Regions from separate parts of the Homo sapiens genome. Here regions 1, 2, 3 and 5 are each linked to region 4. Evidence: promoter capture Hi-C in 16 types of primary human blood cells and fetal thymus (Javierre and others, 2016). All regions are on one chromosome and are shown on one strand. The core of a region is centred on a gene start or on the middle of the fragment in contact, and the rest is flanking DNA. Distances in the headings are between cores, read along the strand shown. Region 1 has its middle 15 kb from the start of TSPEAR. Region 2 overlaps UBE2G2 (ubiquitin conjugating enzyme E2 G2). Region 3 overlaps TSPEAR (thrombospondin type laminin G domain and EAR repeats). Region 4 holds the start of KRTAP10-1 (keratin associated protein 10-1). Region 5 has its middle 40 kb from the start of TSPEAR.

What was found. The method cuts DNA at HindIII sites, captures the fragments that hold promoters and counts their contacts. A CHiCAGO score of 5 or more calls a contact.
Region 1: a contact is called between a fragment that was not itself captured here and the fragment with the promoter of KRTAP10-1 in region 4, in 5 of 17 cell types (total CD8 T cells, naive CD8 T cells, naive CD4 T cells and 2 more). The highest score is 8.4, in total CD8 T cells.
Region 2: a fragment that was not itself captured here is called in contact with the fragment with the promoter of KRTAP10-1 in region 4 in 4 of 17 cell types (naive CD8 T cells, total CD4 T cells, total CD8 T cells and 1 more); the score reaches 8.3 in naive CD8 T cells.
Region 3: a contact is called between a fragment that was not itself captured here and the fragment with the promoter of KRTAP10-1 in region 4, in 3 of 17 cell types (naive CD8 T cells, total CD8 T cells and naive CD4 T cells). The highest score is 6.0, in naive CD8 T cells.
Region 5: a fragment that was not itself captured here is called in contact with the fragment with the promoter of KRTAP10-1 in region 4 in 5 of 17 cell types (total CD8 T cells, naive CD8 T cells, total CD4 T cells and 2 more); the score reaches 9.7 in total CD8 T cells.

Annotation. Positions count from the first base shown.
Region 1 is chr21:44,724,185-44,728,552 of GRCh38, forward strand. No RefSeq gene overlaps it. Among named protein-coding and RNA genes, the nearest start is that of TSPEAR, 15 kb to the left of the region's middle. The HindIII fragment of the contact is 2,630 bases long and covers 1-2,565 here.
Region 2 is chr21:44,782,177-44,786,421 of GRCh38, forward strand. The region is part of intron 3 of UBE2G2 (ubiquitin conjugating enzyme E2 G2); the gene reads right to left. Among named protein-coding and RNA genes, the nearest start is that of UBE2G2, 18 kb to the right of the region's middle. The HindIII fragment of the contact is 5,266 bases long and covers 1-4,245 here.
Region 3 is chr21:44,689,445-44,693,714 of GRCh38, forward strand. All of the region lies in intron 1 of TSPEAR (thrombospondin type laminin G domain and EAR repeats), which reads right to left. Among named protein-coding and RNA genes, the nearest start is that of KRTAP10-12, 5.6 kb to the right of the region's middle. The HindIII fragment of the contact is 899 bases long and covers 1,929-2,827 here.
Region 4 is chr21:44,537,145-44,541,500 of GRCh38, forward strand. KRTAP10-1 (keratin associated protein 10-1) reads right to left here and starts at 3,051. Exons shown (of 1, transcript NM_198691.3): 1 at 1,837-3,051. The coding sequence starts at 3,006. The coding sequence ends at 2,158. The region is part of intron 2 of TSPEAR (thrombospondin type laminin G domain and EAR repeats); the gene reads right to left. RefSeq lists enhancers at 936-1,435, 1,789-2,453. The HindIII fragment of the contact is 15,900 bases long and covers 175-4,356 here.
Region 5 is chr21:44,748,980-44,753,362 of GRCh38, forward strand. No RefSeq gene overlaps it. Among named protein-coding and RNA genes, the nearest start is that of TSPEAR, 40 kb to the left of the region's middle. The HindIII fragment of the contact is 6,978 bases long and covers 1-4,383 here.

The DNA of each region.
Region 1 (4,368 bases), core at 1-2,500, 190 kb after region 4:
CCTGCCTGATGGCTTGTTGATCCCAGACTGCCTCCAAGTATTCTGGCCTCCATATTGGTGTGCTACGCTTGTTATCTTAAGGTGTTTTTAAAACCCGGTTTTCTAAGGACACAGATGCAGGATGTGCCCTCCGGCAGCCAGGTGCTGACTGGGGCTCAGGGTCTGTGTGGGTGGGTGCGGCTGTGAGTGTGGACGGGCGTGTGTGTAGGAGTGACTTCCTAGAATGAATCCAAGAGGAGCCTCTTTGGGGAAGGTGGTGGGGCCAGGTGGGAAGGCTCTGGCTCTGTGGGGAAGGTGGTGGGGCCAGGTGAGAAGGCTCTGGCTCTGTGCACATTTCTGTAATATCTAAATATTCCAGGTTTCAATCATGAATTACTTCTTTTCTAGAAGGACCAAAAGGGATCATTTGCGATTATGAGCTATTTTTCTTCTTATGATTTTCTAGTACATTTTTAAAAATCTGATAAAGTGGACAGGCGCAGTGGCTCACACCTGTAATCCCAGCACTTTGGGAGGCTGAGGTGGGCAGATCACCTGAGGTCAGGAGTTCGAGACCAGCCTGACCAACATGGAGAAACCCCATCTCTACTAAAAATACAAAATTAGCCGGGTGTGGTAGCGGGCGCCTGTAATCCCAGCTACTCAGGAGGCTGAGGCAGGAGAATTGCTTGAACCCGGGAGGCAGAAGTTGCGGTGAGCCAAGATCACACCATTGCACTCTAGCCTGGGCGACAAGAGCAAAACTCCGTCTCAAAAAAAAGAAAAAAAAAAGTCTTAAACTAGGACTATGCTTTTGGAGCATGTCGCAGGGATCTGAGGCTTGGGGTAAGCGTCGGAGACTGGCTCATTTGGAGCTTTTGGAGCATGTCGCAGGGATCTGAGGCCTGGGGTAAGCCTCGGAGACTGGCTCATTTGGAGCTTTTAAAGCGTGTCGCGGGGACCTGAGTCCTCACAGACTGGCTCATTTGGAGCTTTTGAAGCGTGTTGCGGGGACCTGAGTCCTCGGAGACTGGCTCATTTGGAGCTTTTGGAGTGTGTCGCGGGGACCTGGGGCCTGGGGTAAGCCTTGGAGACTGGCTCATTTGGAAAGGGCTCACCAGGCTGCAGTCACTGTGTGGACTTCCCCAAGGGCCACCCTGTGCCCTGCTTAACATTTTGCCAAAGACAGAAATGGCAAGTTCAAAAAAGTGAGGTTGACAAAGTGAAGTGATAACCCACAGAATCAAAGAAAATATTTGCAAACTATCCATATGGCAAGGGATTCATAACCCAAATATATGAGGAGCTCAGACAACTCAATGGCCAAAAAAAAAAAAAAGCAGCCAGGTGCAGTGGCTCACACCTGTAATCCCAGCACTTTGGGGGGCCAACACAGGTGGACTGCTTGAGCCCAGGAGTTTGAGACCAGCCTGGGCAACATGGCAAAACCCTGTCTCTACAAAAAATACAAAAATTAGCCAGGCGTGCTGTTGCACACCTGTGGTCCCAGCTACTCCGGAGGCTGAGGCGGGAGGATTGGTGATTGATTGCTTGAGCCCGGGAAGCAGAGGCTGCAGGGAGCCATGACTGTGCCACTGCACTCCAGCCTGGGCAACAGAGTGAGACCCTATCTCCAAACAACAATAACAAACAATAATCATCCGATTAAAAATGGGTAAAAGATGTGAACAGACTTTTCTCAAAAGAAGACATACAAAGGCCAACAGGTGTTTTAAAATATGCTCAACATCACTAATCAGCAGAGAAATGCAAATCAAACCACAGTGCATTACCATCTCAGCCCAGTGAAAATGGCTTGTATCAGAAAGACAGGCAATAACAGACGCTGGTGAGGGTGTAGAACACTGTGGGTGGGAAGGTAGCACAGTACAGCCCCTATGAGAAACAGTACGAAAAGCACAACTACCATGTAATCCAGCAATTCCACTACTGGTATTTATCCAAAAGAAAGGAAATTAGTATGTCAGAGATCTCTGCACTCCTGTGTTTATTGCAGCACCGTTCACAATAGCCAAGATACGGAATCAACCTAAGGGCTTATCAGTGGATGAATGGATAAAGAAAATGTGGTAAATATACACAATGGAATATTATTCAGCTATCGAAAAGAATGAAATCCTGTCATTTTCAGCAACATAGATGGAACTGGGGGTCATTATGTTAAGCGCAATAAGCCAGGCACAGAAAGACCAACATCTCACGCTGTCACTCGTGTGGAAGCTAAACCAGAGGCTCCCGTGGAGGCAGAGAGTGGAATGGCGGTTCCCAGAGGAAGGAGGCGGAGGGGCGATAAAGGAGGGAAATCTAAACGTGTTTCTCGTCACTGAGCTGTACGCTTTAAAATGGTGCAGATGGTACATTTTATATGTATGTTATTCCTCAATTTAAAAATTAATTTTAAAAGCGAGGTTAATGTTGCAAATGTTGTCACTGAGGCACCCACGTGTTTACCTTAAATTGCGTTTTGTGGCACTCAGGGACAGGCAGGCTATTTAAAAAGTGTGCATTTTTTCAGCTTCACTAGAAATAGAATTTGTGGCAGTTTGTGGACTTTGTCACGAATCAAGCTTTCCTTTGGGAAGATCTTTCCTGTGTGGGCTTGGGTGAGTGCCTTTGCCTGCTGGAGGGAGGGGGAGCCTGCCTCAGTGGTGGTGGGGGCTGTGGGGATGGAGTCTTTATCCCATAAGGAGCTCTCAGTGTGCCCAGGCATCTCATAGGGATTGTACCCACCATCCCCATGGTGGGCTGATTCCGGGTCTCACCAACAGCCCTCATGACCCACCTGCTGGGCACCATGAGCCCGCCCCAGCTGCCCTGCAGATCACAGATGCCGGAAAGGCTCCCGGTGCCTGCTCCTGCTCCTGCAGCTGAGCAGCCAGCCACACCCGCTCCTCCTCCCCAGGTCCACAGCCGCCAAGTTCTGAGTCTTCCCCACCCCAAGCCTGTCCCTTTCTCCACCAAGGGCCAGCACAGCCATCTGGGTTGTCCACACCAACTCCCCTCCACAGTCCTCATTCCTGAAGGCACCCCTCCCTACTCAGCCCTGCCGCCTCTTCCTCTAAGGGACCCCTCCTGGACAGGGTTCTCAAAGTCCAGTGCACACAAAACCCTGGGGGTTCCAGCTTGTGAGGTCAGCATGGGCTGGGAGTGCCCTGACCCCACTTTGAGAAACACCACAGCTCCATCCCCAGCAGAGGTGCTGGTCCCCCCAGGGTCCTTCTCCATCTTGGAGGGACATGTGCCCCTCACTTGCTCCTACTCAGGATCTAGGCCTCCTTGCTGCACCCAGCACAGCTGCCCTGAACTCCCCCTCCCCTCCGCCGCAGCCTCCCCTCCGCCGCAGCCTCCCCTCTGCCACAGCCTCCCCTCCGCCACAGCCTCCCCTCCGCTGCAGCCTCTCTGGCCTCCTGTGAACTGCTTGGCTGTTCCTAAGCCTTGGTCCCTGGAAAATCCCAGTTCCAGCTCAGCGCCCACATCCAGGTGATGCTCAAATGGGCCCAGCCTCAACTCTCAGCCCACAGAGCTCAGAGGACGGCTGAGGCCTCTGGTCAGAAGACCCCAGGCTTCCCCGAAGGAAGGGACACCTCACGAGGACAGCCTGTCACCACAGTCCTAATGGACTTCCAGGGACCACAGTGCCAGCGCTTTCCATCAGAATGGCTGACAGTATTAGAGATCATACATCATTCATTTGCCTCACGAACCCCGAGGGAGTGCTTGCTCCAGAGAGACCCCTGGGCTCCCAGGGCCTGGCACTGGTGACAGTGGCATGGGAGGGGCACATGAGCCGGGTGGCACAGCAAGGCAGCACCGTGACCCTAGGGGTGCTGTGGGCGGAGAAGATGGGGGCAGTCCTGGGCTGCTGAGCTTCTCTGAGGGGTCATCGTCCTTCAGGCAAGTGGCAGGAAGTGGCCCACAGGCTTCCAAGCTGCGGGAGCAGAGTGAACAAGCAGCAGGAAGAGCTGAGAGTCCTGGGAACAGTGGAGCCTGCATGGAGGGGACAGGAAAGGGGATGGAGTCCGGGGCAGCAGTGAGAGACCCAGAGGACGAGAGACCTGGAGACACCTGCAGCCCTGGGAGACGCCCTGGCAGCCAGGGCTCAGGAAAAACCATCCTCAGAGAAGACACACGAGGTCATTATTCAGAACAAGAGTAGGTAGATAAAAGCATATCCTTTGGGAGGCTAAGGCGGGCAGATCACCTGAGGTCAGGAGTTCGAGACCAGCCTGACCAACATGGAGAAACCCCATCTCTACTAAAAATACAAAATTAGCTGGGCGTGATGGCGCATGCCTGTAATCCCAGCTACTCGGGAGGCTGAGGCAGGAGAATCATTTGAACCCCGGAGGCAGAGGTTGTGTTGAGCCG
Region 2 (4,245 bases), core at 599-3,098, 240 kb after region 4:
TAACCAGAGTTAAGTTTGGTTATTGTTCCAGCTTTTCTCTATGTGTGTATAAATTCACATACTCTAATCTACAAAACTGGATTTCTAAAAATTCAAATGTATCATGGCATTGCTGAGAATTTTAAAACACCTAAATAAATGGAGAGACAGTCCATGTTCATGGATTAGAGCACTCAGTACTGATATGATGGCAATATCCCTCAAACTTATCTAAAGATTCAATGTAGTCTCAATCAAAATCCCACCAGGCATTTTGTAGAAATTGACAAGCTGACCCTAAAATGTAATGGAAATGCAATGGCCTAGTAAACAATCTTGAAAAAGAACAAAGTTGGCGGACTTAAATTTCCCAATTTTAAAACTTACCATGAAGCTCCAGTAATCAAGACAGTGTAGTAATGGCCTAAGGATAGGCATAGATCAATGGAATGCAATTCAGAGTCCAAAAATAAATCCTTGCATTTATAGTCAACTGATTTTTGACAAAGGTGCCAAAATTATGCAATGGGGAAAGAACTGTCTTTTCAACAAATGGTGCTGAGACAACTGGATAACCACATACAAAAGAATGAAACAGACTCCCACCTAACTCCATACATGACACTAAGTCAATCAAAATAGATCAAAGGCCTAAATGTAAAAGTGAAAAAACACAAAACTTCTACAAGCAAACATAAGAGAAAATCTTTGCAACCTTGGGTTATATACAACACCAAAAGCATGCTCTATATAAGAAAAAAAATGCAAAATCACACTTCATCAAAATTAACAACTTTTTAGTTTCAAAAGACTCTATTAAGAAAACAAAATGGAGAGTTGCAGATTGGAAGAAAATATTTAAAAATCCTATGTCTAATGAAGGACTTGTATCAAAATATATTTTAAAAACTCTTAACGTTCCATCAACAAGAAAACAACCGAATATAAAAATGGGGAAAAGTTCTGAAGTTCACCAAAGAAGATACATGAACGGCCAATAAGCCCATTAAGAGATGCTCAACATCATTAGTCGTCAAGGAAATCCAAGTCAAATCTGTAAGGAGACCCCACTTTACACCCACAAGAACAGCTGTTATCAGACAACAGCAGTGTTGGTGTGGAAGTGGAGAAACTGGAATGCTCATACACTGCTGCTGGGAATGCAAAATGGTGAGCTACTCTAGGAAGATAGTCTGATAGTTTCTTAAAACATTAAACGCAAATTTACTCCACACCCCAGCAATTCCACACCTCTATATCTGGTCTAGAGAAATGAACTCCATGTCCACACAGACAGTGTGACAAGACAAGTGTTTACAGCAGCATTGCTCAAAAGAGCCAAAAAGTAGGAAGCCCAAATGTCCATCAACTGGGGAATGGAAAAGGAAGGAGCTGCTGATACATGGTATAACATGGATGAACTGCAAATACATTCTGCCAAGTACAAGAAGCCAGGCACAGATGATTAGACAGTGTATGATTCCACACATAGGAAAAGTCAGAAAAGGCAAATCTATAGTCAGAGGAAAGAGCAGGGATTGCCTGGGGGTTGGAATGGGAACTGTCTGCACATAGACATAAGAATCTTTTTGGAAATGTTCTAAAACTGGACTGTGGTGATGACTACAAAACTCTAGAAATTTACTAAAACCACTAACTTTTATACTTAATGCAAGTAAAACTTACAGTATGTAAATTATCTCAATAAAGCTGTTTAGGCTGGGTGCCTTGGATCCTGCCTGTAATCCCAGCACTTTGGGAGGCTGAGGCAGAAGGATTGCTTGAGGCCAGGAGTTCGAGACCAGCCTGGGAAACAGAGCAAGACCCCATCTCTACAAAGCATTTTAAAAACTAGCTGGGCGTGGTGGTGTGCACCTGTGGTCCCAGCTACTTGTGGGGCTGAGGTGGGAGGATTGTTTGAGCCTGGGAGTTTGAGGCTGCAGTGAGCTGTGACCAGGCCACTGAACTTCAGCCTGGGTGACAGAGCTAGACCATGTCTCCATAAGAAAGGGAGGGGAGGGGAGGGGAGGGAAGAAAGGAGGGGAGAAAGGAAGAGAGAGAGGAGGGAGGAGAGGAGAGGAAGGAAGGACGGACAGACGGTTCCAGACCTATTATTCTAGAATCCGCCTTTTCCATTTATATTGTGTACATCTTTCCATGCCAGGATGAAAATTCCACCTGAACTGTTTTACAGCTACATGGCATTACTCTATATAGATGCTCCATAAATTATGTGGAACAGTGATGTTTCCTTTTTTATTATTATTACTGCAATGAATGTGGCAATAACTTCTTCATATAGGGATCTTTGTGACACTTTTGTTGAAGAAAATGCTATGGTGAGATTACATACAATACAAATTATAAACACCTATTTTATTATCTCGGGTTTATTTCAGCAAGGCATAATACTGCCAAGAGATGCCCTGTGACAGTCTTCAGTCAACAAGAAACCTGGACATAAAGGGAGGCTGCTGTGCCCCGGACACTGGCCCCCAGTGTGAGAAGGGCTCCTGGTAGAAGCCGCGGCAGCCTGGGAGCCCTCAAGCTGGCTGCCATGAGCCAGCTGGAGAACCTGGGAGCATCCATCCACCAACTGGGCCCCAAACACACCATTCAGTAAAGGAAGGTCCTTCTTATTTCACCACAGCCTCTAGAACCACTGGTCTGGGGAGGTGACAGCAGTCAGGCATGAACCAGACAAGAAGGTCACCAAGCCAGCTGATTTGGGAATGCTGGGGCAGGACACAGAGGACAGCAAGCGCCAAGGGACTCCACGCCTTGTCCGGCCACTGGGGATGAACAGCTGTCTAGGACTCCTTCTGTCCCACATAAGTGCATCAATGAAAGAGGGCACCCACCCTCTCTGCAGCTACACCCCCGTCACCGTGGCTTAGTGGCAATGGGGTCACGGGCCATGGACCCTAGAGCTGGGCAAGACCTGTAACCATCTGTCTAGAAGATGCTGATAAACCTCTCTGTTTTGATCCAAATAAGTCAAAGAGAGGCAAAGTGACTGGGCCAAGAGCAGCAGGCCATGCTAGCACCCACAGCCACGGTGGCCACATCCCCTGGTGTGCCGCCATCCCAGCCACGCTCGATTTGATTGCAGGCTCAGACTCCACCATGAGCGTGGCAGGGTCAGCAGAGTTATTCCCGGTGTTTAAAGACACAGCCTGCGGACTCTCATTATTTAGTCCTCTCATTCACTAATCTGTTCTATTCTCCATCCTAATCCCTCAACCCTGGTCTTCCAAGGTAAAGATTTCAGTGCATCTTTGACATGTCTGTATCTTCAGACAAGGGCCCTAACATATCAAAGGCACTTAGTGTTTGTTGCTTAGATATCTAAAATGACATTTTCTTCACTGGCCCTTAAGGCAAGCACAACAGCAAAAACCAACAGCCGTTCGACTTCTGTGAGGCAAGCACGGGTTTTAGAAATACTAGGGTAGAGAGGCGGCCCTGGAAGCCATCAAAGAATAAAGAGAAAAAGAAGAAACTTATCACCAAGGAGCAAAGACTTGGCCAGATGTCTGCCAAAATAGCAGGGTGAGACAAATCGATGGGAGGACAGTTAATTCCCTAATAGGCATTTTAAGTGCACTTGTAAACGGCCTCTTGTTTGTGAAGGGTCTGGAACAGGACCAAAACCCACAAACTCACTAGGATCTTCAAGCAGGGGAATTCCAAACTAATGCAAAAAGCCTTGTTCAAACACAGAAGTGCTCTACCTAAAAATAGTTCTAATTACTTTTTAAGACAGGTTTTCAAAATATTGGTTTAATTTTACACTGTTTATTTAAAATTGGTAATAGTTACCCTAATCGATTTTTAACAATGAACATTTTTTTAAAACCACACTGGACGGCTCAACTGTTCCTTTAATGAGCTTCCAAATAGGCCTACGGAGGAGCCAACACCCCACAAATAACTGCAGACACGACAGGCGCCTTCAACCTCTACACACAGACAGGCCTCCCGCCACTCTGGGCCCCTGCAGCAGGCGTGCTGCCCCGCTGGCATGAGTGCAGGTGCGCCTGCATTAACACATGAAACAAGCAGGTTACACATCAGTTCATGTATATGATCTCCTGCTTCTACAGAAATAAAAAGAGCTGCCCCGATACAAGTATACAGCCGCACAGTCCACTAATGAGGACAGCCCAGACTGTGGGACTCGCCATCCATCTCATAACTGCCTTGGGGGCCACATTACACACAAACACAGATTCCAGAAACCTTCAGACACCGAAAAAACATGTG
Region 3 (4,270 bases), core at 1,128-3,627, 150 kb after region 4:
TGAGCTGAGATCATGCCACTGCACTCCAGCCTGGGCGACAGAGCGAGACTCCATCTCGAATAAAAAAAAAAAAAGTCCTAAATACACTCAGATATTCAGGAAGATGTTACATCTACCAAACAAGGACAAGATGCTTTGAAAATGAACAATTAGAACAATGATCCCTAAAATGTCACAGATATTAAACATCTCATTGATATTTAAAATTAAACAGAGAGGCTTGAAGGTGAGTGTATTAGGGTTCCCTTAGAGGGACAGAATAGAATGAATATATATATATATATATATATATATATTTTGGGGGGGGTTACTAAGTATTAACTAACATGATCACAAGGTCCCACAATAGGCCGTCTGCAAGCTGAGGAGCAAAGAGATCCAGTCTGAGTCCCAAAACTGAAGAACTTGGAGTCCAGTGTTCAAGGGCAGAAAGCATCCAGCACAGCAGAAAGATGTAGGCTGGGAGGCTAGGCCAGTCTCGCCTCTTCACATTTTTTCTGTCTGCTTTATATTCGCTGGCAGCTGATTAGATGGTGCCCACTCAGATTAAGGGTGGGCCTGCCTTTCCCAGCCACTGACTCAAATGTGAATCTCCTTTGGCAACACCCTTACAGACACTCCCAGGATCAGTACTTTGCATCCTTCAATCCAATCAAGTTGACACTCAGTATTAACCATCACCATGAGGTTGAGAAATCGCTCTGATTTGGAACAAAACGTCAAAGAGATAAAAAAGAAATGAGGAAAAAATACCATAAATGACTGATCTAGTGAATGTAATCCCTGATGTGTGGGAGTCCCACAAAGCGGGACAGTGAGAATGATGAGCGGATGCACAAATAAACTCCTAAAGAGGAGCATTTCCCAAGGCTAAAGACACAGTCTTCAGGCTGAAAAGAACCAAGTGATGCCAAGAAAAATGAACGGAAAAATCCTAGATATGTCCTCTGTTGAAATGATATAACATCAAAGATAACAAGTGGTTCCCATGGGCTTCCAGAAAATCAAACAAACAAACAAATGAACAAGTCACCCACAAGCAATAAAAATCAGATTAGCATCAGACATCTCATCAGCAGCACTGAAGGCTACAGACTCACAGAACAACACTCATGATGTCCGGGAGGTCAGCATTCAGCCCACGCTTTCAAAGATGAGCATGCTGTAAATAAACAGGTTAAACAGAAGATAAGCAGTTCTTAAGATAAGCAGTAAACATGACAGCAAATTATTAACCATAAAACTATTAAGTAAGCATATGTGTTTTTCTAAGGCTAAGTAGCATGTATTTTATCCTCTGGGGGTGTGGTCATTTGCTTTTCTACATTTTTGTTTGTCTGTTTGTTTATAGAGAAGGGGTGGTCTTGCCATGTTGTCAGTCTAGCATCAAGCTTCTGGGCTCAAGTGATCCTTCCACCTCAGCCTCTCAAGTAGCTGGGACTACAGGTATGCACCACCATGCCAGGCTCTTTTCAAAATATTTTAAAGTAGTGGAAATATTTTTTCAAACTGAATCTGACCTAGAAGTCAAGTCTGTAAAACAGATTAAAACACAGCTTCTCTAATTTAAAGTGGGATGGAGAATCCAGACACCTATTAGTTTGTCCTCCTCCCCTCCCTTCCCTTCATCTCCCCTCGCCTCCTCTCCCCTTCTCTCCTCTCTCCACACTTCTCTCTCTCTCCCCAGCTCACCCCCTTACCTAGGTAACATCTGAAATGTCTCCTAAGAACATGATTTTACAACCTTGTTGCTTTGAGTCCCTCTCTCTCCCCAAGCTCTAAGAGATTACGGAATTAGCATGTGCATCATTAGGCCAGGGAACAGAGCTGATAGCAAAGAATGGCACTCACCCCTATGTCTCTAACGTATAACTGTTAACAACATATGTTGTATCAGCCATTACTCACAGCTGACTTTCTCTATAATAAGCTTATTTTTTCAAGAATCCTTATGTCCCCATCCGTACACTAAGACCCTAAGAACTGAGAGACAGAACATCAAGGACCTATTCATCCATATTGTTCCAATTGCAAAAATGCATGAGGACATTATGTATTGATAAAAGATTCAACTCATCAAAGATATGAGAATTAGAAACATATATGCACCATACAAAGAGTCCCCACATATATGAAGCAAACATTGACAGAATTCAAGTGAGAAATAGTTCTACAATAGTTGGAGACTTTAATATTTCATTTTCAATAATGAACAGAACATCTAGTCAGAAGGTCAATAGGAAATAGAGAACTGAACCCACTATAAACCAGTTACTCACAAAAGATATGTATAGACACTCCACCCAACAACAGCTTTACTGGTGAATATCACCAAACATTTTTTTAAAATTTAACAAAAACCTCCTCAAGTTGTGAAAGAAAAAAATAGAAGGATCACTTTCTAACTCACTCTGTGAAGCAAACATTATGCTGATACCAAACCCACATAAGACATCAAAAGAAAAGAAAATCACAGACGAACATGACTTGTAAGTACAGATGCAAAAATTCTCAACAAAATACTAGCAAAGTGATTCCAACAGCATATTAAAAGGATTATATACCATGACCAAGTTGGATTTATCCCAGGAATGCAAAGATAGCTCCAGATTAAAAATAATCAATGTAGTATACCACACGAAGAGAATGAAGTGAAAAAACCCACATGATCTCAATTAACAAAGAAAAGGCTTTGACAAAGTCCAACACCATTTTATGATTTTAAAACACTCAGAAAACTAGAAATAGAAGGGAATTTCCTCAACATGCTAAACAGCATGTATGAAAAACCCACAGCTTGCATTATACTTGACAGTGAAAGACTGAAAGCTTTCCCCCTAAGATTAGGAACAAGACAGGATGTCCCTTTTCACCACCAATATTCAACATTGTACTGGAAGTTCTAGCCAGAGCTATTAAACAAGAAAAATAAATAAATAAAAGTCATTAAAATTGGAAAGGAAGAAGTAAAATTATTTCTATTCACGGGTGACATGATCATGTCTATAGAAAATCCCAAAGAATCCACAAGAAAGCTACTAGAGCTTTATTAAAGAATTCACCAAAGTTTCAGGGTACAAGATCAACATACAAAAATCATGCATGTTTCTATACACCAGCAATGAAAAATCTGATAAGGAAATTAAGAAAAACAATTCCATTTCAATGGCATCCAAAAGAATAAAATACCTAGTAACAAATATAACCAAGGAGGTAAGAGACTTGTACAATGATAACTGTAAAACATTGCTGAAAGAATTAAAGAAGACCTAAATAAATGGAAAGACATCCATGTTCATGGATTAGAAGACTTAATGTTGTTAAAATGGCAGTACTACCCAAAGAAATCTACAGATTCAATGCAGTCCTTATCAAAATTCCAAGTCTTTTTTTTTTCCAGAAATGAAAAAGCTGATCTTCAAGCACATATGGATTATAGGAACTCAGAATAGCCAAAACAATCTTGAAAAAGAGGGACAAAGCTGGAGGATTCACACTTCCTGATTTCAAAACGTACTACAAAGCTACAGTAATCAAAACAGTGTGGTACTGGCCTAAGAACAGACATATGGACCAATAGAATAGAACTCAAAGGTCAGAAATAAACTCATACATTTATGGCCAACTGATTTTCAACAAGAGTGTCAAGATAATTCAATAAGGAAAGAATAATCTCTTCAACAAATGGTGTTAGGAAAACTAGATTTACAGATGGGAAAGAATGAAGTTGGGCCCTTACCTAATATCATATATAAAAATTAACTCTAAATGGATCAATGCCCTAAATATGGTAGCTGGAACCATCAAAATCTTAGGAGAAAAGATGGGAAAAATGCTTTATTCCCTTGGATTTGACACTAGGTTCTTAGATATTACGCAAGAAGCACCAGCAACAAAAGAAAAAATAAATTGGACTTCATCAAAATTTAAAACTTTTTTGAATCAGAGAACACTGTCAAGAAAGTGAAAAGACAATCCACAGAATGAAAGAAAATATTTGCAAATCATACATCTGACTGTGACTCAACAACAAAAAGACAACCCAACTAAAAAATAGGCAAAAGATTGAGTAGACATTTCTCCAGTGAAGGTATGCAAATGGCCAATAAGTACATGAAAAGATGCTCAACAGTATTACTCATTAGGAAAATGGAAATCAAAACCACAATGAATGCTACTTCACACCTACCAGGATGGCTGTAATTTTTTTTTTTTAAAGGAAAATAACAAGTGTTGGCAAAGATGTGGAGAAATTGGAACCCTCATACTT
Region 4 (4,356 bases), core at 1,801-4,300:
AGTTTAAAAAATACTGGAAAAGCTTTCTAAAATTAATCGAGAACAAGCTAGAACCAACGTTTTTAGAAAATAAGATAGTGGCACCTTCCTTAGGAGCTGTTAGTTTCCTCCTACATATTTAAAAGCTCAATGCAATCCCAATCAAAATTATAGCAGTTTAAAAAATACTGGAAAAGCTTTCTAAAATTAATTGAGAACAAGCTAGAACCAACGTTTTTAGAAAATAAGATAGTGGCACCTTCTTTATGAGCTGTTAGGATATATTATGAAGCTGAATAACATGGATAAAACAGCTGGAATGGATGCAAGGATAGATCAAGAGATGAATAGAACAAAATACAAAATAGGGATTTCAGAAGCAGGCTATACAAACATTTCTCAGACAAAAGAGATGTTTCAAATGGGAGATGGAGAGAATAAACTAACTTTAAAAAAGGACAGTTGGCTATTGGTGGAAGAGAAAGATTAATACGTCATACCTCACACAAGTCATATCAGCAAATGGGGCAAAAAGTTAAATCTAAGCAATAACAATGAAACCAATATCAGCAAAATTAGGCCTGTTTCCAATCTCGGGGAGTGTGCTGTATAGAAGCAATGATGGGTTGGAAATATTTGGAGGGCATATGATGGACAGAGGATCCCCAGCCCTAAATCCACAAGAAAAACACACATAGCCTGATAAGAAATGGGCTAGGAATGTGAACAGGAAACTTTCAGTGTGGACGGCCATGCATTTAGGCCATAGTGGGTTCCCAGCAGCCGTCAGTGCGGAGGGCAGGGAGCTGAGAGCAGATCAGGCTGAGCCGGGGTCACGCGGGGTCCCCCAGCCACTGAGGGCCCTGGGCAGCAACCACGCAGACCCCGCCCCCCAGGCTCCACCTCACTTTCTGTGGCATTTCTGTGCCTGTTCTGACCACAGCCGTGGCAGCACCATGTCCATCAGGCTGCGGCCGGCCTGGCTGTGGGGTGACTGCAGCATCCCAGGGGCGGGCATTCTCATCAGCGTTTTGGTCTCTGCAGCTGGCCTGGAGGAGTTTGTCTCACAGTCTGAGGACTGACTGCTCTGCACCCACCCAGGGTGGCGGAGCCCCATGCGCTGCCTGATCTTACCATTGTCCCCGCTGACGGCCTTTCCCACAGGACATCACAGGCAGCTCATGCTCCCCGCGTGGACCAAGCCTTAGAGAGATGAGAGTGTCGCTGACTGTGTGCCCGCACCGGCATCATCTGTGGGAACCCAGGCTCCTTGTCCCTACACCTGTGTGGAAACTGCTGCCCCCCCCCCCCCCAAGAGGAGAACCTGGGCAGCGCCAGGGTTTTGGGGAATCCTGTGCCTCCATCCGCCCACCCCATGATGCTTTTGTTCCCATCGAGTCCCTTGTCTCCTGCGCAGGTGCAGCAGCCCCTCCCTCTCCCCTCGCATTGCTGCTAAAACGGGCAGAACCCTCGGGCGGGCGGCACACAGGGAGGGTGACCAGGCCTGGAGGCTGCAGTGCCCGGACCCCAGGGCAGCTTCCCGGAAGGTGACCCTGCAGTGTGGGCTCTCCCAGGTGAGAGAGTGGGTGGGACAGTCCTGGGGCCTGGAGAGCCCCACAGCCCAGGGCATGACAGCGAATGACCAGGCTCAGGAAGACCCGGGCACAGGGGCTGAGCTGGGACTGAGCCTTCCTGGGAGTGACCGTGAGTCCCACCTGGTGACCCCCTGGAGGAGTTAGGCCACTGTCCCCTGTGACTTCTAGGTTAAGTCACTCATTCCTAAAAATAATCATGGCTGGAGGAGACCAATGTCAGCTCAAAACCATGTGTCCCCCAGGAACACAACAGAAAAGAGAATCAGGTGACCAAGGAGAGTTTATTGGGGAGCAGGAGGAGGTGCTGAGAGGTTCAAGTCGAGGCCAAGTGACCCAGAGCAGAGAAGCTGGGAGGGAGGACAGGGGACCTAGCAGGCAGGTGGGCACCTGCTGGAAGGCAAGAGCTGGGGAGCTGCAAGGATGGAGGCTCCTGGGAGCAAGGAGGGGGGGTCACCTCAGCACAGGGGAGACACGGGGACCCGTCCTAGGTGGGGGAAGCCACCTAACCCAGGTCAGGAACTGAGCCCAGCTGGCCCAGGGCGGGTGCCCATCAGCAGCTGGACTCCTGGCCTGAGCAGAGGCCTCAGCAGGCCGGGCGGGAGCACGCGGGGCGGCAGAGGAGGGACACGCAGGAGGCCGGGCGGCAGCAGCTGGCCTGGCAGGAGGAGGCAGGGGCACAGCAGGAGGAGACAGGCATACAGCAGGCGGGCCGGCATACAGGGCGGCAGAGGAGGGACACGGAGGAGGAGGGTCTGCAGCAGGAGGTGGTGCAGCAAGCCGGCTGGCAGCTAGACTGCTGGCAGCATGAAGTGGAAGCCCCAGAGCAGACGGGCACACAGCAGATGGGCTTGCAGCAGACAGGCTTGCAACGGACGGGCACGCAGCAGGCCTGCTGGCAGGGGGAGGAGGTGCAGCAAGCTGGATGGCAGCTAGACTGCTGGCAGCATGAAGAGGAATCCTCAGAGCAGGTGGGCACATAGCACACAGGCTTGCAGCAAACAGGCACACAGCAGGACTGCTGGCTGGAGGAAGAGGCACAGCAAGTTGGCTGGCAGCTAGACTGCTGGCAGCATGAAGAGGAATCCTTAGAGCAGGTGGGCAGGCAGCACACAGGCTTGCAGCAGACGGGCACGCAGCAGGCCTGCTGGCAGGGGGAGGAGGTGCAGCAAGCCGGCTGGCAGCTAGACTGCTGGCAGCACGAGGGCGTGCAGGAGCTGGTGCAGCCTGATTGGCAGGGGCTGGGCTCACAGGCTGCCTGGCAGCAGGGGCTGGACACACGGCTCACTGGGGTGCAGACCAGGGTCAGGCAGGGGGCCGGGGCGCAGCAGCTGAGGGCGCAGCAGTGGGGCTCACAGCAGCTCTCTGGGCAGGCATCCACCTGCCAGGAGTCGGAGCAAGCGCTGGAGCAGACGGACATGGTGGACGCGGCCATGCTGGGGTGGGGAGGAGGTGAGCTGCGGGAGGTGTGAGTGAGTGAGTGTGGGAGTCAGTGTGTGTGTGAGTGACTGAGTGTGTGAGTGAGTGTGTGAGCTTCGTGGGGCTCTGCTTTTATACCCCTTCTGGCCTTGTTGTTCCAGGGCCCACAGCGTCCCCTTCCTGGTTGCTGAGAGGTGGCGTGTGTCATGACTAGGGATGTTTGTTTGCCTGTGATGTGGCCCAGGTCATAAATCTCCTGTCCTGTCTGGGCTGTAGCCTGTCCCATGTGGATCCCTGGGGGCAAGAGTGGAGGTGGACCTGGTCCCAGCACGCCACCAGTGCAGTCCGGGTTGTAAGAAGGGGGCTGCGGAGGCAGGGGTGGCCCTTCAGCCTTATGCAAAGTGTGGCATGCCAGGGTGAGAGCTGTCCCACTCACGATCGTGGGGGCGTCTCCTCCCTAAAGCGGGTCCTCACTGAAGAGGCAGAAGCAGCTGGTAGAAGCACAGGATCACTGGAGCAGCCGGAGAGAAGGTGCAGCAGTGGCCAGCGAACCCCACAGTGGTGGCCCTGCACATTCCTTCCCCCATCCCCATCACTGAAGAAATTAGAGCCCCAAACAGGGAGAAGGGGAGCAAGGAAGGAGAGGCCATGCCCCTCCCCACGGCCTTCCCCGAGGTCCACTCAGACGTTGGTGTGGGAACGCTGGGGATAGGACTGGGTTTCGGACAGGAAAGAAAAGTTTTGAACTGGCCCATGGATTTGGTTCTGCTCTTAAAGGCCATAGCTTTATGATGTGCTTCAACCATAGATAACTCAAGTCCCGTTATCAATATTCTTAAATTTATTTTTTTTTTTTTTTGTACAGATGGCGTCTCAAGTGATCCCTCCTGCCTTGGCCAAAGTACTGGGATTGCAGGCGTGAGCCCGGTGCCTGGCCATCATCAGTATTTCTGCACCACGTGTCTTCCCTGTTCCTGTTCATTGTCCTTGCTGTCCTCAGCTTCCTTTCTTCAAACGTAAGCTGCATGTGAGCAGGGAGTGTGTTTGTCTTGTTCACCACTCAGTCTTCAAAGGCCTAAAATCATGCCTGGCCCAAGGAAAAGCCTTTATAAAAATGGGCTGAAATAATAAACTTTTTTGGAGAAATTATTGAAGAGTAATTTTGAGCTCTGAACGCGATTCCATTGTGCCACCTTTTTCTTATGCTGTATAAAATGCTCTGTCAAGTTCTCCTTTCGTGTGTGGGGAACTGGCTTACATCAGACTGGCCATCTAGCTGAGAAATATTAGGAAATCTGGTTTACAAACAAAATCTCTGTTCGAAGGGGCCGGGAGGTATCAAGACAGCTGAGACTTGAGTGAGTGA
Region 5 (4,383 bases), core at 1,217-3,716, 210 kb after region 4:
TCAGCCACACTGAGACCAGCACCGTAAGCCATTTGGAAAGTGGGGGCAGTGGATGAGGAGGGGCAGTGGCAGGCAGGGGAATGAAGCCCAGGTTGACGAGAAAGAGTGAAATTTGAGTAACTGCAAGGAAAGGCCAAGAATCCCACAGTCAGCTCACGGCCTTGGACGTGGCTCACAGACAGGCAGGGGGAGACTTCGCAGGCTTCAGAGGGTGTCAGGGACCAGGACCCTGGAAGCAAAGGTTGGGAGCAAGGAAGCAGCGCGACCCCTCACACCCCACCTGGAGGCCTGGGTCGGGCCTGGGCGCCGGCACAGAGCTGGTGAACAGACATCCTTGGGGGAGCTCCCGCTGCAAGCACTGCGGCTGCCCAGGCAGGTCGGGGGAGACCCGGGTTCGGCTTCTTTCCAGACCTCGCAGTATTTCTGTGCCCTCACCTGGCTGTGAGCCACAGGTTCAGAGAGAGGCCAGGATTGGGGCAAGGGAGCCCAAGGAGAAGGCCGGATCCCCTCACGGGGGTGGCCCTGGATTCCTTGGCTGGGCAGAGCGTCACTGGGGATCTCCAGACAAGGGACACAGGCTTTGATTAAGGGGCCCCAGCGAGGATGTCTGTTCACCAGCTCCATGTCGGCGCCTTGGGCCCACCGAGGCCTCCAGGTGGGGTGTGAGGGGTGGCGCTGCTTCCTTGCTCCTAACCTTTGCTTCCAGGGTCCAGGTCCCTGACACCCTCTGAAGCCGGCGAGGTCTCCCCGTCCCTGCCTGTGGGCCACGTCCAAGGCTGTGAGCTGACTGCGGAATTCTTGGCCTTTCCTTGCAGTTACTCAAATTTCACTCCTTCTGGGCTGGTCCAGGAGACCCCAGCTTGGGACAGGGCCTGTGGCCCCTCCAGCAGCACGCACTGTGCCCACCCGCCACTGGTGAGGAGATTCCAGGAGAAACACTGCCACCCAAGCAGCACCCCACATGGCTGGCCTCCCCGCACCGGGCCGGCACCCCACAGTGCCAGTCACCCACCCCACTTGGCTGGCCTCTCTACACCGGGCCGGCACCCCACAGCGCCAGTCACCCACCCCACGCGGCTGGTCTCCCCGCACCGGGCTGGCACCCTGCAACGCCAGTCACCCACCCCACGCAGCTGGCATCCCCGCACCGGGCCGGCATCCCACAACGCCAGTCACCCACCCCACGCGGCTGGCCTCCCTGCACCGGGCTGGCACCCCGCAACGCCAGTCACCCACCCCACGAAGCTGGCCTCCCCGCACCGGTGCCAGCACCCCGCCGCGCCAGTCACCCAGAGTCCTCCTGCCCCAGGAATGAAACCATCCTCAGGCCGGGCGCTGTGTCCTCAGTGGTGGTGTCTAGGGATGGGGTACACAGCCCAGCCTCTGCCCAGGGCTCGGAAGCCCTTGGCCAAATCCCGGCTACTCCCTGCTCCGGCAGGCTGAGCGATGCCCGTGCATGCTGAGCCAACCAACCAACAAATGTCCCTGCCTTGTGTGCCGTGTGCATGCCGGGGCGGACGGCCTGCTTGCTATGGATGTGGGGCTCCCTGCAACCCCATGAGGCCCTGCAGCAGCCTGGCTGTGTCCCCGCACCCCTGTGTGTTGGCAGAGGTCAACACCACCGGACCCCTCCACGCTGGCCCCCTGCCTCTCCATTCCCGCTTCCTCCCTGTGAACGTGCTGTCATACCGACCCCTCCACACTGGCCCCCTGCCTCTCCATCCCCGCTTCCTCCCTGTGAACGTGCTGTCATTCCGACCCCTCCACACTGGCCCCCTGCCTCTCCATCCCCGCTTCCTCCCTGTGAATGTGCTGTCATTCCCGCTTCCTCCCTGTGAACGTGCTGTGCCCTAAAGCCACGCTTCCTCCAAAGGCTGCACTCCATCCGCCCAGGTGATAAGAGTCGCTCAGACACTGTTGCTTATACGGCCGCACACACATCTCTAGCTGGTTTCTTGTTCCAATAATACTGGTATTTTTTAAAAGCAAATTTGATTCCTTGATCCACCGTGGCTGGGTGTTTTGTAAAAGGTAGAATTAAATACCAGGTGTGTGTTAGATAATTGAACCAAGCTCACAAGGCACAGGTCAGTGAGTGTGACAATTGTCAGAGGCAGGCAGAGACCGTGATGGCCTCGGCTCTTACAGAGAACATTCCCCAAGGGAGCAAAGCCTGGCAGGAGGCCTCCCTTGGAATTCACCAGAAACTTCAGATGCCAGTTACAGGGGAGCATCGAAACCGAGAATGCCGCATTTATGCCCAGGCCCTCGCCCGCAGCGACCTAACCCCTTCCAGAGGCTCTGCTGGCTGGGGCTTGCACCTCTTCCCTGCAGCCGCTGGAGATCCCATGTCTGTTCCTGCACCCCGCAGGGTGAACCTTCAGAGGCCCAGCGCCAGGGTCCCTGTGCTGCTGAGAATGAAACCCGCCCTTGGGGGATGAAGTGCCTCTCCACCAGCTCCGGGGTCACAGTGTCGCTAAAACATCCGGCTGGGCTCTGCAAAATGGCGTCTTGGGGGCACAGCCTCTTCACAGCCACAGGGCCTCCCGGGAGGAGCACAGGCTTCTGGGTGTGCTCTGTCCCTGGGACCCTCAGCTCACAGGCCAGGAGGTGGGACCCCGGTGGCTGAGGAAATGGCCACACGCTCCCCATGTCCCGTGCGACTGCTATGGAAAGAGGTGATTCCCTAAAGGAAATGGGGGAGGGGGCGCCACCCAAATCAGGGAGAATGGGTGCTGTGGCCGAATACACAAACGTGTCGCCGTAGCATCTCACAGGCCCCACATCCAAAACAGGCCCCACATCCATTGCTCCAAACCTGCTCCCGGCCCCTCGGTCCTCCCCATGGCTCCAGCCGCCCCCTGCCCGGTGTCCCACTGGCAAGCCCTCGTCCTCCCTTTCTCCCTCCGCCCCCTCCAAGCCATTGGCCCATCCTGTGGATTCCACTCCGAATCCAACTCAGATTAATCAGCACAACCTGTGGACTCCACTTTGCATCCATCTCGGATCAATCGGCCCATCCTGTGGACTCCACTCCGAATCCATCTTGAGTGCACCTGCTGTCTCCCTCTCCATAGTGCCCCCTGGCGCCCCCGCCCCCACTTAAGCCTCCAGCCTCCCAGCCTCCCAGCCTCCTCCTCCCTCAACCCGACTCACCAGCAAGAGGGACCCCTTGAAGACCCGAGTCCCAGCGTGCGGCTCCTCAACCTCCTCCAGTCTCTCCTCGCAGGAGGGTAAGCTCCAAACCCCCAGGCTGCCCGACGGAGCCCACGGCACCAGACTTCTCCCCACCAGCTCTGCCCAGGAGGCCTCTGCAGGAGGCCCCGGCCCACTGGCTCCTGGACCCCTCACCCTCTGCTCAGCCCGGCCTTTGCCTGTGATGCTCCCAGAACGACCCTTTACAGCTACTGCAGATGGGAAGCCCCCTCCCCCCCGCCCGGGGCTGTGTGGGTTCATGGGGTGCGCCCTGGGCCGCTCCTCACCGCCTGGAGCGCTGGATGCTCCCTTCATCCATTTTCACTTGTGTATCGTCCATCTCCCCAAATCCACGAGGCCCACAGCTGCCGAGCGTTTTCTCCACTGTTATCCTAGCACCAAGCACAATGCCGGCCACCTGATGGGTAGTAAATAAGTGTAGAGAGAAAGAGAGGGAGAGAGGGAGAAACAGGAAGGAAGGAGAGTGGGAGGGAGAGAGGAAGGAAGGGAGGGAGGGACAAAGGGAAAGAGGGGGGAAGGAAAAGGGAACTTGTAAACTTCTAACATTTAACAATTTGTTGGCAGATTACTGCATAAAGATGTGATTTTTGGCAACAGGAGCCAGGAAATGCTCAGTGCTGCTTCATGTGCTGAGCCTCTGCCACTGCACATGGCCTCACTGCCCGGGGCCGACAAGCTATGTGTGCATGCGAGAGTACATGTGTGTCCATGAATGCGTGTGAGCATGAGTGCACGTGCATGTGTGAGTGCGTGTGCACGCATGCTTGTGTGCATGTGTGCTGTGTGTGCACGTGTATGTGCATGTGAGGGTATGTGCATGTGTGTGAGTGTACCTGTCTAACCAGCAACAGCCTCATTAGATTCCAAGGCTGCGTGAGTCACCTCCTGCCACAGGTAATTAAAACTGGGGAAAGGCCCGTGGCTTTGAATGGGGCAGATAGAATCTAGCCAGATAAAGGAAATGATTGCATCTCCAGGTGGCTGAAGGGGAGGAAGCTGGACTCATTCCGAGTGTGACTCCAGGTTTTCAAGTGTAAAACACGAGGAGATGTCAGTCGGGTGCCACTGCTAATGAGGCAGCCCACAACTGGTCTCGACGTGCGTCTGTGCCTGTAAAAGATGAAAGTGCAGCAGCACCCTGAGAAATCACACATCTTCGCCGTCAGT